3 separate regions of the Homo sapiens genome follow, and regions 2 and 3 are each linked to region 1. Evidence: promoter capture Hi-C in human tissues and cell types (Jung and others, 2019). All regions are on one chromosome and are shown on one strand. The core of a region is centred on a gene start or on the middle of the fragment in contact, and the rest is flanking DNA. Distances in the headings are between cores, read along the strand shown. Region 1 holds the start of ASZ1 (ankyrin repeat, SAM and basic leucine zipper domain containing 1). Region 2 overlaps CTTNBP2 (cortactin binding protein 2). Region 3 has its middle 54 kb from the start of CTTNBP2.

What was found. Contacts are between HindIII fragments. The study calls those that stand out against the background at their distance.
Region 2: a fragment that was not itself captured here is called in contact with the fragment with the promoter of ASZ1 in region 1 in 1 of the 25 tissues and cell types used here (mesenchymal stem cells).
Region 3: a contact is called between a fragment that was not itself captured here and the fragment with the promoter of ASZ1 in region 1, in 2 of the 25 tissues and cell types used here (dorsolateral prefrontal cortex and mesenchymal stem cells).

The regions. Positions count from the first base shown.
Region 1 is chr7:117,424,353-117,428,790 of GRCh38, forward strand. ASZ1 (ankyrin repeat, SAM and basic leucine zipper domain containing 1) reads right to left here and starts at 3,141. Exons shown (of 13, transcript NM_130768.3): 1 at 3,004-3,141; 2 at 2,484-2,583. The coding sequence starts at 3,108. The HindIII fragment of the contact is 3,572 bases long and covers 2,188-4,438 here.
Region 2 is chr7:117,736,431-117,741,273 of GRCh38, forward strand. All of the region lies in intron 14 of CTTNBP2 (cortactin binding protein 2), which reads right to left. Among named protein-coding and RNA genes, the nearest start is that of CFTR-AS2, 91 kb to the left of the region's middle. The HindIII fragment of the contact is 5,792 bases long and covers 1-4,705 here.
Region 3 is chr7:117,925,118-117,930,033 of GRCh38, forward strand. No RefSeq gene overlaps it. Among named protein-coding and RNA genes, the nearest start is that of CTTNBP2, 54 kb to the left of the region's middle. The HindIII fragment of the contact is 4,374 bases long and covers 1-4,074 here.

The DNA.
Region 1 (4,438 bases), core at 1,891-4,390:
TAAAAAGAGTTACATAATGACATCTGGAAGGAAATACCCTAAAACAGGAGTTAACCTGTGAAAGTGAGGCATCAGCAGTAAGGGGAATGACAGTGAGGACAATGGTAAAGAAATCTTTCTCCTTCTACCTATATCTCTATTACTGCCTTTTAAAAATGAACTTTAAAAATTTTTGTAACTAAAAACAAATTTCAAATGGTTGACTAAATACTTAGCAGTAGGCTCTGTTCAAGAGACTGAAAAGCTCACATCTGCCCATCAATCATATCAAGTCTTAATCCTTCAAAAGCCTCTATCACATTCACTGTACCTAGTCCCACTACTCCTAAGGCAAATTTTCTTTTCTAAAACAAATCTCTGCCTATTCCACCCCATGCTATGTACACTATACATATATTAATATTAGGTATTCGGGCCTCTTTCTACTTATTCAGAGTTTATTCAATTTCGTTTTTCAATTCCAAACTCAAGTTCCATTGTCCAAAAAGTCATACAGATCCTTCTCATTTCTTATAAGAATAACAGGTAATGTTTACATAATTCCTATGTGTTCTAAGTCCTTTAAAAGCGTATTTTAATTCTCCCCCTTGCCAACAACCCTTTGATATAATAATCCTCATTTTAAAACGGGCAGAAATTGAAGCTTAGGAAGATTTGGTAACTTAGTCAAGGTTACAAAGCCATCAAGTGGCATGGTTAGTAATCAAACCCAGATCTGTCTTGTTTTCAAAATTATTTACTTTTCAGTAAACTATGCATTGATTCTAGCATAGAAGAAAAACATTATGCTATATATAATCACATCTAACTACCTTGTGTGTGAATGTTTTGTATCTACAATGGCAAAAACCACAATTATTTTTGCATCAAACTGAAGTAAATGCTTGTTATTCCTTTGAGTAATTTCTTTTTTTTTTTTTTTTTTTTTTTTGAGACGGAGTCTCGCTTTGTCGCCCAGGCTGGAGTGCAGTGGCGCGATCTCGGCTCACTGCAAGCTCCGCCTCCCGGGTTCACGCCATTCTCCTGCCTCAGCCTCCCGCGTAGCTGGGACTACAGGCGCCCGCCACCACGCCCAGCTAATTTTTTTTGTGTTTTTTAGTAGAGACGGGGTTTCACTGTGTTAGCCAGGATGGTCTCGATCTCCTGACCTCGTGATCCGCCCGCCTTGGACTCCCAAAGTGCTGGGATTACAGGCGTGAGCCACCGCGCCCGGCCAGTAATTTCAATCATTATAATCAATAATTTACATTTCTATGTGAAGGTAATTTAAAGTTTTTTTTTTATTTAATACACAAAAAATTCATGAAGCCCAGGACAGAATTATGATGCTTTACATAAAGAAACTGATGCTCTCTGGCTGGGGGCGGTGGCTCTTGCTTGTAATCTCAGCACTTTGGGAGGCCGAGGTGGGTGATTACTTGAGGTCAGTAGTTCAAGACCAGCCTGGCCGACATGGTGAAACCCCCGTGTCTACTAAAATTACCAAAATTAGCTGGGCTTGGTGACCGGTGCTTTTAGTCCCGGCTACTCCGGAGGCTGAGGTGGGAGAATCACTTGAATCCCGGCCCCCAGATGGAGGTTGCAGTGAGCGAAGATGGTGCCACTGCACTCCAGCAGGGCTAGAGAGAGACACTCCATCCCCTTCCTTCAACCCCCCAAAAATGAAATCTGATGCTCTCAAAGTTTTAATGCCTCTTCCAAGAAACCAGAGTGGGCAATAAACTGGAAGAAATTATCCATATATTTATTCTGATTCCTAGCTCAGGCCTCATTCCACCAGTACAAAACAAAAAACTGTAACGAGAAAGAACTAAAATGTAGAACCATTTCTTAAGAAACATACAACAGGCAGGGCACGGTGGCTCATGCCTGTAATCCCAGCACTTTGGGAGGCCGAGACAGGCGGATCACAAGGTCAGAGGATCGAGACTATCCTGGCTAACACGGTGAAACCCTCTCTCTATTAAAAATACAAAAAAAAAAAAAAATTAGCCGGGCGTGGTGTCACGCGCTTGTAGTCCCAGCTACTCAGGAGGGTGAGGCAGGAGAATCGCTTGAACCCGAAGGTGGAGATTGCAGTGAGCCAAGATCGCGCCACTGCACTCCAGCCTGGGCCACAGAGCAAGATAACATCTCAAAAAAAAAAAAAAAAAAAAAAGAAAAAGAAAAGAAAAAAGAAACAACATTACAGCAGAGTAAATGAAGAGAGAATTAAGAATGATCAGAGTGGGATAGGATTAGAGTAGGCCTCTTGCTTGAAGGAGGGGGAAGAACTGATGGAAGATAAACAGGGTGGCATTCCAAATGCAAGCAGAGAGGAAGAAAATAAGGCAGACTGGACTCAGTCAACGAAGATTATGCAGGATGATACATTAACATTTGTTGCGTTTCCATTAGAAAAGCAACATAAACCTTTTAAAAATAAAGAATCCTTGCGAACTTAAGACAGCTGTGTTCAGATGAAACTGTCCCTTATCTCTCACCAGAATCTAGGAGCTCCTGGACCAATGAAACATCTCCGATGGTCATTGCTTTCTTAAATTTTTCTTTCTTTTCTTCAATGGGTAATAGCCTTTTCAATTTCTAGAAAAGTAAACATTTTAAAAAATTCTTGTTATATATATTTTTGTTTCCACCTCATCAGGAAACAATAATGTTTGGTTAAGTACACAGGTTTTTTTTCTTGGCTTTATTTTGACTAAGATACAAAGTTTGAAAAGAATTCGTGTCGAAAATTATCTTTCAAGGGAATAGGTAATGATGGATCCAAACCCAACTGAGGAGTTACGATGACCTAAAGAAGCGTATTTGGTGGTAACCACAGTTGGGGAGGGAACACGAGGAAATTTGTGCGGGTTTGCTTAAGTACAAACTCCCGTATTTCCACTGGGTAAAAGGGAAATACACGTGAGGGAGTAGGAGGTTTCACGAGGCTGGGCCTCGCCTTCGAGGGCCAGGGGAGGCTGAAACCAGGTGTGGTCAAGACAAGGCCTCCTCCGCTACCTGAGACGTCCGGTCGAGATACCCAATCTCCCAGCCATCATCCTCGCTCTCGCTACTCTCGCCTCCGCCAGCCACTGGCAGGCCTCGCAGCGCGCTCGCCGCCATGCCAGCCAAGGAAGCTCCCTGTCGGCACCGCGCGCCCTTCAGCTCTCCGGGCGCATGCGCACCGGGGTGGGGCGTACGTAGAGATGCGCGGGAAGGAGCGCCGTGGAAGCGCTCCAGTCTGGAGCCCTCCAGCGCAGGCGCACAGCGGCGCGCTGCTCTCCTCCCTGCCCCGTCCCTCCCTAACCTTGAGGCTTCTTGAGGTGAAAACCTGGCGTGTCTGACACTGGTGACGAAGTTCGTGCGCCAGGCTTCTGCTGGCACTTCCAGTTCCTCTCAGGGACTTACCTTTCGACCTCTTTAAAGTATTTGCTTGATGAAATGATGAAATTCTTGCTCTGCAAGGAATGCCTTACTTGTGGCAGGAGCACACTAGGATTTAACGGCAAGTAAGACTAGACTTTCCCCGCCATCCTTTTCATCTGCCCCCTGCCAAACGTCTGTTAAATCTGTATCCCCTGGGAGACGGACTCTTCGTAGTAACACCTCTCTCAGGAGCACCACTCAGACATTCAAGAAGCCCTTACGCAAGTAGGAGCCGACGAAGGAGCCAGGAGAAAATACTGCCCCAAAGAATTCTTCCTTTACATTTCATGTGATCTTAGATCTCACCTTAGATTTAGAAGCTTCAGACCATCAAAACACTTCCCCGCTATGAAGTGTAGATGTCCTAGAGGAAAATATGAAAGGAGGGGGTTTCCGGGTACAGTGGATCCAAAGAGCCAGAAAGAAAGAAATGACTTAAACGTCCAGAGAGCAAATAATACAAACAACTCCAGGTGGAAGTGGCCCAAGCTCGAACTCACCTTTCTACATGGTTCTAGATGGTAGAACTTCTAGATGTTGGTAACACAGTGATTTTCTTTGCCACCACAGAAAAGTAGATCCACCAAGAAACAGGGCATATTATATGTATCTCAAGATAATAGCCATGCACTATTATTTGAAAGCTTTTGCGGTTTTTTTCTTGCAGATTCTCTGATAAAAGATTTTGAAATTATTTACTTTAGAGGCTCAGAGGTAAGTATTTTTAAGTAGTTTAGCTATTTGCGTGCCACATCTGTCTTTCTAAATGCATTCATTCAATAAATGCTAGGGATTACTTAGCACAGCCAAGTGCTACTAGGTTTGGGGAGACAACGTCAAAGATAAACCATGGAGCCTTATGGAGCTCACTTTAATAAGTAGAGATAGACAATATGCAAGGAAACAAAAACACTATTGCAGATTGTAAGTGCTTCAAAAGAAACAAGTGTGCTCTGTTTCTGGAATCAAACCACTTTTGTGTTTCCTGGGGGAATCACTAGCTGTAGCTGTGTGCCCTTAGGCAATT
Region 2 (4,843 bases), core at 560-3,059, 310 kb after region 1:
CTGTGTCTAGAAAAAAAAAAAATGTAGACAGGACCTCAGAGAGATAAGTAAATCGCTCTTTCCATTTTCCAGATCTCAGAGAGGCTGAAGTAATTTGTGGTCTCAGAAACAATGGTAAGGGAGGAGTAAAATCCAGCACTTCCGACTCATATTTTCCCATTCGTTTCACTCAGGATGGGAAGGACTGACTTTCTGTCAACCCAAAATGAAAGCTGGAAAAGTAAATGAAAAATTAATATTATATATAGGAAATGAATAAGGGCACAAAACATACTTAAAACAGTACCTGGCATCTACTAAGCAGAAACTATTAATAGTTTAGTTAAAATGTATTCTATATGGCACTTCCCATATACTAATCAATTACAAAATAAAATCACTTTAGTTTCTTGAAGATTCTAAGATGCCACAGTTTTAGTCAAATTAACCTTGAAAAGAAACCAGTTTAGGATACTTGAGAGTAACATTACCAAATAGTCTACTTTTTACAAATATTCATGATAGTATATTCTCAATTCCTTCTTGTTACTATAGACACAATGCATTTTCATTTTCAAAAGAACTCCTTGAACACTGTAAATGAATCTCTTCTCAGACAGAAATGGCTCTTCTGGATGCTATGAAAATTTAAAATCTAGAAGGCTAGAAACAATCACAGCCACCTCTCAATCTAGTTGTACTTGTGGAGGGCTGCTAACACTAGCATCTAGTGTGTGTCAGATCCCTTTCAACACAGCTGTTTGGTAAAGAATGCTAAAATTCTATGTTTCTTTGGGTTCAAATGTTATTTCAGAAATAGATGTATTGTGGAAGTATGAGAAATCCGTAGTTGGTGAAAACAACAATGGAAAACTAACAAACATTTTTAATTCAGCGATTAAAAAAACACACAGGATTGATGGTTTATGTATCTGGTTTTCTGTAACTGAGGACTGAAGGTCTCCAGCTTTTCCCTGATTTGTGTTAAGTGCATCGCCAGTTTAAGTGGCTCTGAAGCTGCTGCAGCCAGCCAGAATGCATCTGAAGGAAGGAATATTTCCTTGCATTTCAACAAATGTTTATCCAATGCCTCTTTGCTACAGGTACTGGATGCTGAGTGCTATGGCATGCCAGAAGTGACTCATTCTAACTGGGGGTGTGTAGCATTTTATTTATTTTTTGGAGATGGAGTCTTGCTCTGTTGCCCAGGCTGGAGTGCAGTGGCGTGATCTCGGCTCACTGCAACCTCCACCTCCCGGGTTCAAGTGATTTTCCCGCCTCAGCCTCCTGAGTAGCTGGGATTACAGGTGCACACCACCATGCCAAATACAAAATTTTTTTTTGTATTTTTAATAGAGATGGGAGTAACCATGTTGGTCAGGCTGGTCTCAAAGTCCTGACTTCGTGATCCACCCACCTCACCCTCCCAAAGTGCTGGGATTACAGGTGTGAGCCACTGCACCTGGCCAGCATTTTAAACTAAGTTTAAGAAATGGCACTGGCCGAAGAATGGAGCTGGGCAGGATTCAATTCTAGAAGGGAATACGGCGTCAGATCAAGGTCAGAATAGTTATAAAAGCGTCATCATGGTGAGCTAAAAGCTGATCCATATAGCAAGTCGGGCCAGGGCTGGGAACTTGGGGTGGTGCCACAGGAGTGGCAGGGCGCCCAGCAGTCACAGCTGCGGAAGGCAGGCTGCATCTTCATCCTGAGCTGCAGGAATCGCTGGACCCATCCCCAGTGATTCTCAGCGCTTCTGATTTAATTGCACTGTGCTGGGCCTGGGGCACTGGCATTTTGTAAAAGCTCCCTAGTGATTGGAATGTGCAATCAGGGGCGAGATTTGCTGATATGAAGCCTCAGGACCAAGCCAAAAATGAAAAGTAGAAGACTCAGAATGTCTTGTTGGGAGGGAGCTACTGGTTCTGGGAATCAGTGGAAGTCTTTAAATAGGGGGATAAACAGGATTTGACTCCTGCTCTGAGATCTTCATGGTGCAGAGAATTGGCTGAGGAGGAAAGAAATAGGAGAACACACCTCCTAGACTCTTACTGCTATGGTTAAGGAAAGAGATGATGGGAGCCTCACCCAGGACCAACGCACAGAATGAAAAGGCATTTTGAGACCGAATCAGTAAATCTCAGTGGCTGACTTATTGAAAGAGGGGCAGAGAGGAAATACTGGAGACAACTCTAGGTTTCCACCAGAGAAGAGGCTGAGCAGTTAATGGAGGCAGAGAGCAGATGTGACCAAGCATGTACTTGGGGAGGAGGTGGTGGTGATGGGTTATGTTTCAGGCTTGATGTGTTTGATGAGTGAAGCATTGCTTCTCTGATGTGCAGCAGGTGGTGGGGCATGAGGGTGAGGGCATTGAGGAAGGATCCAGGCTGGAGATAAAATAAATGAGTTTTCAGGCATGCTGGGGTCTCTTGGAAAGAGGCAATATGCTCATTCTCCTGGGTCCTCAAGCAAATACTATATTGCTAGTGACCTAATACATCTCACATTCAATGGACAGTTTGTGCCCTAGACAAAAAGGGGGAAGGGCTGCTATACATAACCATTGGGTTATCTTTCCACTTCATCTTTATCTTGGTCTCCCATGAAGTAGCAATCAAGGGTCAAACAGCACAGCTTTCTTTGGGGGAAAGCTTTGTCTTCATTCGCTTGCCTCATTGCCTCAGTTTTTCATTAGTACCTACTTTTCCATCTGACCACTTAAGTTCCACATCCTTAGTCAAGGTGGGGCAAAGGTTAATTTTATTTTAGTTGAGAAATAGTACGTGTCTAGTTCAGGTTATTCTGCGTAGTTTCAGGTCTAAAATATTAACCAGCCACAGAAGCAGGAACTCATTACAGTTTCAAGGATCAACCAGTCTCTGATCAGGGCTTATGGAGAGGTGAAAGAAGGCCACACACCCCATGTTACAGCTGCAGGTTCCTTTTTACCTTCGGCCAAAAAGTCAGCCATTTGAATTCCCTTTGCTCTGTGCCACTTCAAAACGCTATTTCTAAAACCAGTCTGCTCTTTTTGACCTTTTTCTTCCAACTTTATAGGCTCTCTCAGCCCTGCTCCTCTCCTGCAGGTTGGTAATTTTAACTGGACACTGTCTTTGTGAGGCTCAGGGCTACATCCCAGTTTTGCACATCCTTATATTAAAAGTCCCAGAGAGTGAATTCTGCAGCCAAACTTATCAGTTTAAAAATAATTAGCATATCGCATTTCTAGCTAAACCCAAACTGCTTTGTGTCGTAGGTGAGTGACTCCAAGTCTATTATCTCCCCTTTCAGGACAGAAAACAACCCCTCTTTTCCATGTGCCCTTAAACCCCGGCTCTGGAGGAACGATGTTCTGAGAGGCCAAGTGGGAAGCACAGGGCAAGCCTTTAAAGAGTCCCAGGAATGCAGGGCCCAAGGAGGTAAACTCATTTCTGGAGACTCCAATTGTCATAGTCTCCTATTGTAACAGCAACCCTATCCTCATTACTTTTACAAAGGAAAGTTCCCTTGAAAAATTCAAAGTATTACTTTAAAATACCCATCTAGTGTTTAATTTTTTTTTCTGTTTTACTGTTTACAGTCACTGTAATTTTAAAAAGTATCATCTTGCTAACCCAAGTCCATACTTTATACTGAGGAGAAATTTGACCTAATTCTAATATGCATTCACAGCCTCCTTACCAAATAACAGAGTCATATGACATGACCCTCTCTCAAGAAAGGGAATATGAGAAGAAAATGTTATTTTAAAATAAACACAAAGTAATTTATGCTAGAATAAGTGCTGTGTCATTTTCTTTGAAATGGTCTTTTGTTCTCTATTCTTTTCTTCATTGGCACCATTTTAATCTCCATTTAAGTTTTAGATTCTTAAACCTAATTATTTAAAATACTTTTGCTACTCTTCATTTCTGTCTTTTTGCTCACACCCTCTTTAACTCTTTTCTGTGCCTGTTCCCTGGCTTTCTTCTACGGCGTCATAGAGAGGAACACATAAGGCAATGTGTGCTGTGCTCAGTGGAAGACAGAAGTTCAGCATTCTCACCCCATTCAACCCACATAGTTTAAGGCTCTCTCTTTAGAGAAAATAAGGTTAACCATCAGGAGTACGTGTAGAATACCTCAGGAATCAGTGTACTCTTCAGTTGTGGTACTTACTATTTGATCACTTTAATTTCTTGGTAAAAAAAGAGAGTAGCTGGTAGATAATCCCTATATGCTCATTATTCTAAACGTTTGAGTGGAATAGCCTAGAAAACCCCTTTCCTCCATCCAGATCTCTGACTTCTCTACCCTGTGGCCTCATCCATCGCCTCTTGACTGAAGGATCATTCCCTGCTGCATGCTTTCTGCACAGTGAAAGAACTGACACCACACCTGTCGATGGATCCTTCCCTGTGGCTCATAGGAGTTCCCCTGCACTGCTCTGAAGTCTCTGGTGTCCTTGTTGATTCTAATTCTCCTCTATGTCTTCATCAGCCTCCAGCCCACAGCATGGGTCCTACTGAGAAGACGGCAGTGGAGGTAGAGTGGGTTTTAGGAGATGAGGGTGAACTGCAGCAGGACAAGGATGAGAGGCCAGTCCACAATGTTCCTGATGTAGATTCTGAGAGCTTTAGCTTTCATTCTGGAGCCTTGGGAGTATAACAGCAGGGAACTGTCTGAATGGTTTTTTATCCTCCAGTGAGCCCCCAGATGCCTTGTGGAGGGCCCATGGAGGGAGTGAGACCAGAGGAAATATGAAAGGTTAATGATGAGGCCTCTACAATGCCTTGAACAAGAAATAATAGGTGATGGGGGAATGGAGAGCAGGAGGAGGAGATAGAGGAAGCAGATTCCACAGAGCTTAGGGACTGCCTAGATA
Region 3 (4,916 bases), core at 638-3,137, 500 kb after region 1:
GATCTTCGACAAAGCAAATGAAAACAAAGTGGGGAAAGGCCACCTATTCAACAAATAGTGCTGGGATAATTGGCAAGCCATGTGTAGAAGAATGAAACCGGATCCTCATCTCTCACCTTATACAAAAATCTACTCAAGATGGATCAAGGATTTAAATCTAAAACCTGAAACTATAAAAATTCCAGAAGATAACATTGGAAAAACTCTTCTAGGCATTGCCCTAGGCAAGGATTTCATGACCAAGAACCCAAAAGCAAATTCAATAGAAACAAAGATAAATAGCTTGGACTTAATTAAACTGAAGAGCTTTTGCATGGCAAAAGGAACAGTCAGCAGAGTAAACAGACAACCCACAGAGCCAGAGAAAATCTTCACAATCTATACATCTGAAAAAGGACTAATATCCAGAATCTACAACAAACTCAAACAAATGAGCAAGAAAAAACAATTACATCAAAAATTGGGCTAAGGACAGGAATAGACAATTCTTAAAAGAAGATATACAAATGTCCAACAAACATATGAAAAAATGCTCAACATCACTAGTGATCAGGGAAATGCAAATCAAAACCACAATGCGATACCACTTTACTCCTGCAAGAATGGCCATAGTCAAAAAATAAAAAAATAATTGATGCTGGTGTGGATGCAGTGAAAAAGGAACACTTCTACACAGCTTGTGGGAATGTAAACTAATACAACCACTATGGAAAACAGTATGGAGATTCCTCACCTAAAAGTAGTACTGTCATTTGATCCAGTGATATCACTACTGGGTATCTACCCAGAGGAAAAGAAGTCATTATACAAAAAAGATAATTGCACATGTATGTTTATGGCAGCACATTTGCAATTGCAAAAATGTGGAACCAACCCAAATGCCCACCAATCAATGAGCAGATAAAGAAACTGTGGTATATATATCTGATATATATATATATATATATATTATATATATATATATATGATAGAATACTCCTCAGCCATAAAAAGGAATGAATTAATGGCATTCGCAGTGACCTAGATGAGACTGGACACTATTATTCTAAGTGAAGTATCTCTGATATGGAAAACCAAACATCGTATGTTCTCACTCATAAGTGGGAGCTAAGCCATGAGGATGCAAAGGTGTAAGAATGACACAATGAACCTTGGGGACTCAGGAGGGAAGGGTGGAAAAGGGGTGAGGGATAAAAGACTACAAATTAGGTGCAGTGTATAATGCTTGGGTGATGGGTGCACCAAAATCTCACAAATCACCACTAACTTACTCATGTAACCAAACTCCACCTACTCCCCAGTAACCCATGGGAAAAAAAATTAAAATTAGGATTAGGAGCCCGAGAAGCAGCCCCTACTGACACTATCTTTATCTTGCTAGGTAAGTAATTTACCTCTATTTGCAGACTTTCCTTTATGGAAATAAATAATCCAGTAGGTTAGTCACTTTGGGTTGGCTTGACTGTTATCTACCAAAAAGGTTTAATTTGCTCAGCGTCCTACATGATTTGGTCATCAAGGATGTTTGGGAGGATTTATGTATTGGGAGATATATTTGGTTGGGCTGTGACAGCAAACATGTAAATGTTCAACAAAATAGAAGTTTATATCTTGCTTACATCATAGTCCAGGAAGGCTGTAGTATTTACCACCTTCAACGCATGATTTCCAAGGTTGACCTGGTGATCTTCTCAAGTCCTGTTAACTAGAAGAGAGAAGAGCATGAGGAAGAATATGTGCAAAGTTTTCATGGGCTAGGATTGGAAGAGGGAGACATTGCTTCTTCTCATATGCCATTGAAGATAGTCAAAGGACCACAACTAAGTGTAAGGGAGACTAGAGGTATGCCTGAAGAAGGGAAGCAATTCTGGTGGACAGCCAGGCATCTTTGCCATAGGACTGACAACTTCTTAGCTGTGCATTTCCTGTTGGCAGTGACATAGAGGTTCAAAAATTGCCCTAAACAATGAGTTATGAGTTATCTTGTATCTCTTTCAGCCAGACTTGTTTTGTGTTTTGTTTATTTGTTTGGGAGTGATGATGGTGACAATGGAACTTCCTTAAAATCCCAGTGGTTTGCTTGTTTAGGAATTCCTTTTGCTAGTAACTGATGTCAGAGCAAGATGTTTGAATCTGGGCCTCTGCCCCTTCATGGTTTTGGTTTCTTGGTGACTCTTCAGTGGTGCTACCCATCGTTATGGGACTTGATTTGGTCTCTGTCTGCATGATGGCATTGGGGATGAGGCAAGGTTAAGGGACCCTCTGCCCCAGGTACTCCCAATATGCTTTATAATCTGGGGAAAGGAGAATGATGTTTGCCAGGGACAAGTGCTTTGGAAACATCTAGGGAATCTGGTTTCTCCATTCTGGTTGAACATTTACTGGAATTGGGTGCAGTGAGTTGTCTTTTGAAATCCAGAGCATGTCCAGTAGCAGAAAATGGCCTTTTGAGTAGAGCTGTGTCTTTCTCCTGCTCCACTTTTAGATGGCTCTGCTTGGTCCATTTGTTGTTGTTGCTATTGTTATTGTTGTTGTTGTTGCAACATCTTATTGAAGCCATACTTATTGTTGGCAAGAAGTAACCAATACTTCCAAATTCCTGTTTTCTTTCTACCAAGTCCCATAAAGTTCTAAACTCAGTGGGAATAGGCACAGGATCCGAATAACAATAAACAATGAACAATGATTAACTAATTGCTTTGCTACTGAGTTCTCTAATTCAGAGTGGAGGAAACCTGCTTGTCCTATTTACACCTGAACATAGACAATTCCACATTTTGGATCTGTCCCCAGCAATGCCTGTGGTCCTGTTACCAATTATGGCATCAATTAGGGCTCCGTTGGTTGCCAATGGCAGAAACCCCATCCAAAGTAGCTAAACAAATACAGAAACAGAAAAACAAAAAACACAAGTTCACCAGAGAGTAGTGCTGTTTCAATAGAAATAAAATTTGAGACTCATATGTAATATGAAAATTTCCAGAAGCCACATAAAAAAATAAAAAGTAATAGGTGGAATTAATCTTAAAATTTAGTTTATTTAAATAGTATATCAAAAATATAATCTCGATATATGTTCATTATAATAACTAGACATTTTACATCCTTTTTTCATACTGTCTTTAAAATCGAGTGATATTTTACGTATACAGAACAATTTAATTTGAACTAGTCATATTTCAAGTGCTCAGTAGCTGCTTGTAGCCATTGGCTACGATATTAAACAGCATAGTATTAAAGCATATTAGGGTGGCTCTTAGAACTGAAAGAATTCCTGAAGAACCACCCCTGCTTCTGTGAGATGGTTTCATTACTGTACACTTCTGATTTCTCACTGTGCCTGGGCACATGACTGCTAGCCTGTCTAGAATCACATTCTCAGCTTTATCAGAGAGGAGAGAGCTCTTCATCTTCCCAACAAGCTCTGCCTGTCTACTCCAGCTCCAGTTCAAAAAACTATTTGGAGAAAACTCTGACTGCCCATTTTCAGGTCAATCAGATGGCCCATTAATGAGGCGAGGTAACATAATTGGTCTAGTGTAGGACAGAGTGGGGTTCTGTGACTGACAGCTTAAAAAAAATCCTTATGACTAGAGTGGAGAATGAGGAGCTCTCCAAAAGAAGAAAGGTTTCTGTAACAAGAAGAGGAAAAGAGGTACTGGGAACTCTGAAACAATAAATGTATACATTCTCCTATGCCCAAGGAAGAATTACTGTACACTTGAATAAAATGTAAACAGGAATAAAATAAAACAGGAATAAAAGTACCTGTTTATGCAGGTACTATGACTATTGTTGGATGAACTGAAAACTCAGGTACAGACATTAGTATATGTGCTTGCTATGTAAATATTCAGTGAGCAAGCTTGGAATTTCTAGAAAATGAAAATGGCAGCTTCATTTAACAACTAACTCCTTAATAAGCATATTTCTCACACTTATTTTGGTTTTTTGGTTAAAAAATAATCAGGATGCATAATACATTGATTTGGTAGTTTAATATTAAATCATAAAATGTTGTCTTCCTGACTAGAAATGAATGTGTGGAATGTCGGAAGAAAAAAAAAGTCAGGGATCAATAGTATTTTTAAGATACAGTCATGGTGATTATTTTATAAAAATGAAAAGATAACAGAATCCCATAAAACCCTGATAAGCAACAGACCCTACTGTTTCCAGGACCTTGCCAATTACTGTCAGTTTGCAAAATCCTTCCTGTGAAGATAGACTGATGTATGAGTGTAACTGTGGATCTTTTTCTCAGATGAAGACACAGAGCAGAAGCTTCTCTGGCTGCTGTGGCAGGTGATCATTTAAGGTTAAGGATGATTACTGTTTATCTTAGTCTGCTGGGACCCATCAGTAGCTTTCAACACTATGAATATATATGATGCTAATGTTCCTCTTAAATGTTCTGGCTAATGTAAAGGAGACAGCTTTCTCCAGGGTAAATTCAGTCCTAACACACTGTAGCTGAAGATGTTCCTATGCTTGGCCTAAATTAGTACTGATTGCAGGATTATCTTGAGAATCAGTGGAGTTGAAAAAAATATCTTTTACAGTTTTGTGCTTTAGTTCTTCCTGTCCCTTCCATGTGGTGCTGGAAAGTCAAAAGACACGGCTGTCCACTACAATGCCCTCTTCATCACAAAATCAGCATTTTTCTAAGTTAAATGTGCTTCACAATCAGGTAGGTGCTTAAAAATGTATCTCAGATGGCGCCGCCACTGGAGACTTTCAGTATATTTGGGGTGAGACTTAGAGATATTGATGTTTTTATAAGCCCTGTAGGTAATTCTAATGTACACACCTTTAAACTCAAACTTGAGTTTAAGTTGTGTCACTGTCTCTAATTTTCCATTCTGATAATGTATGGAGGAATGAAATAAAAAAACATGAAATGACAGTTCCCTTCA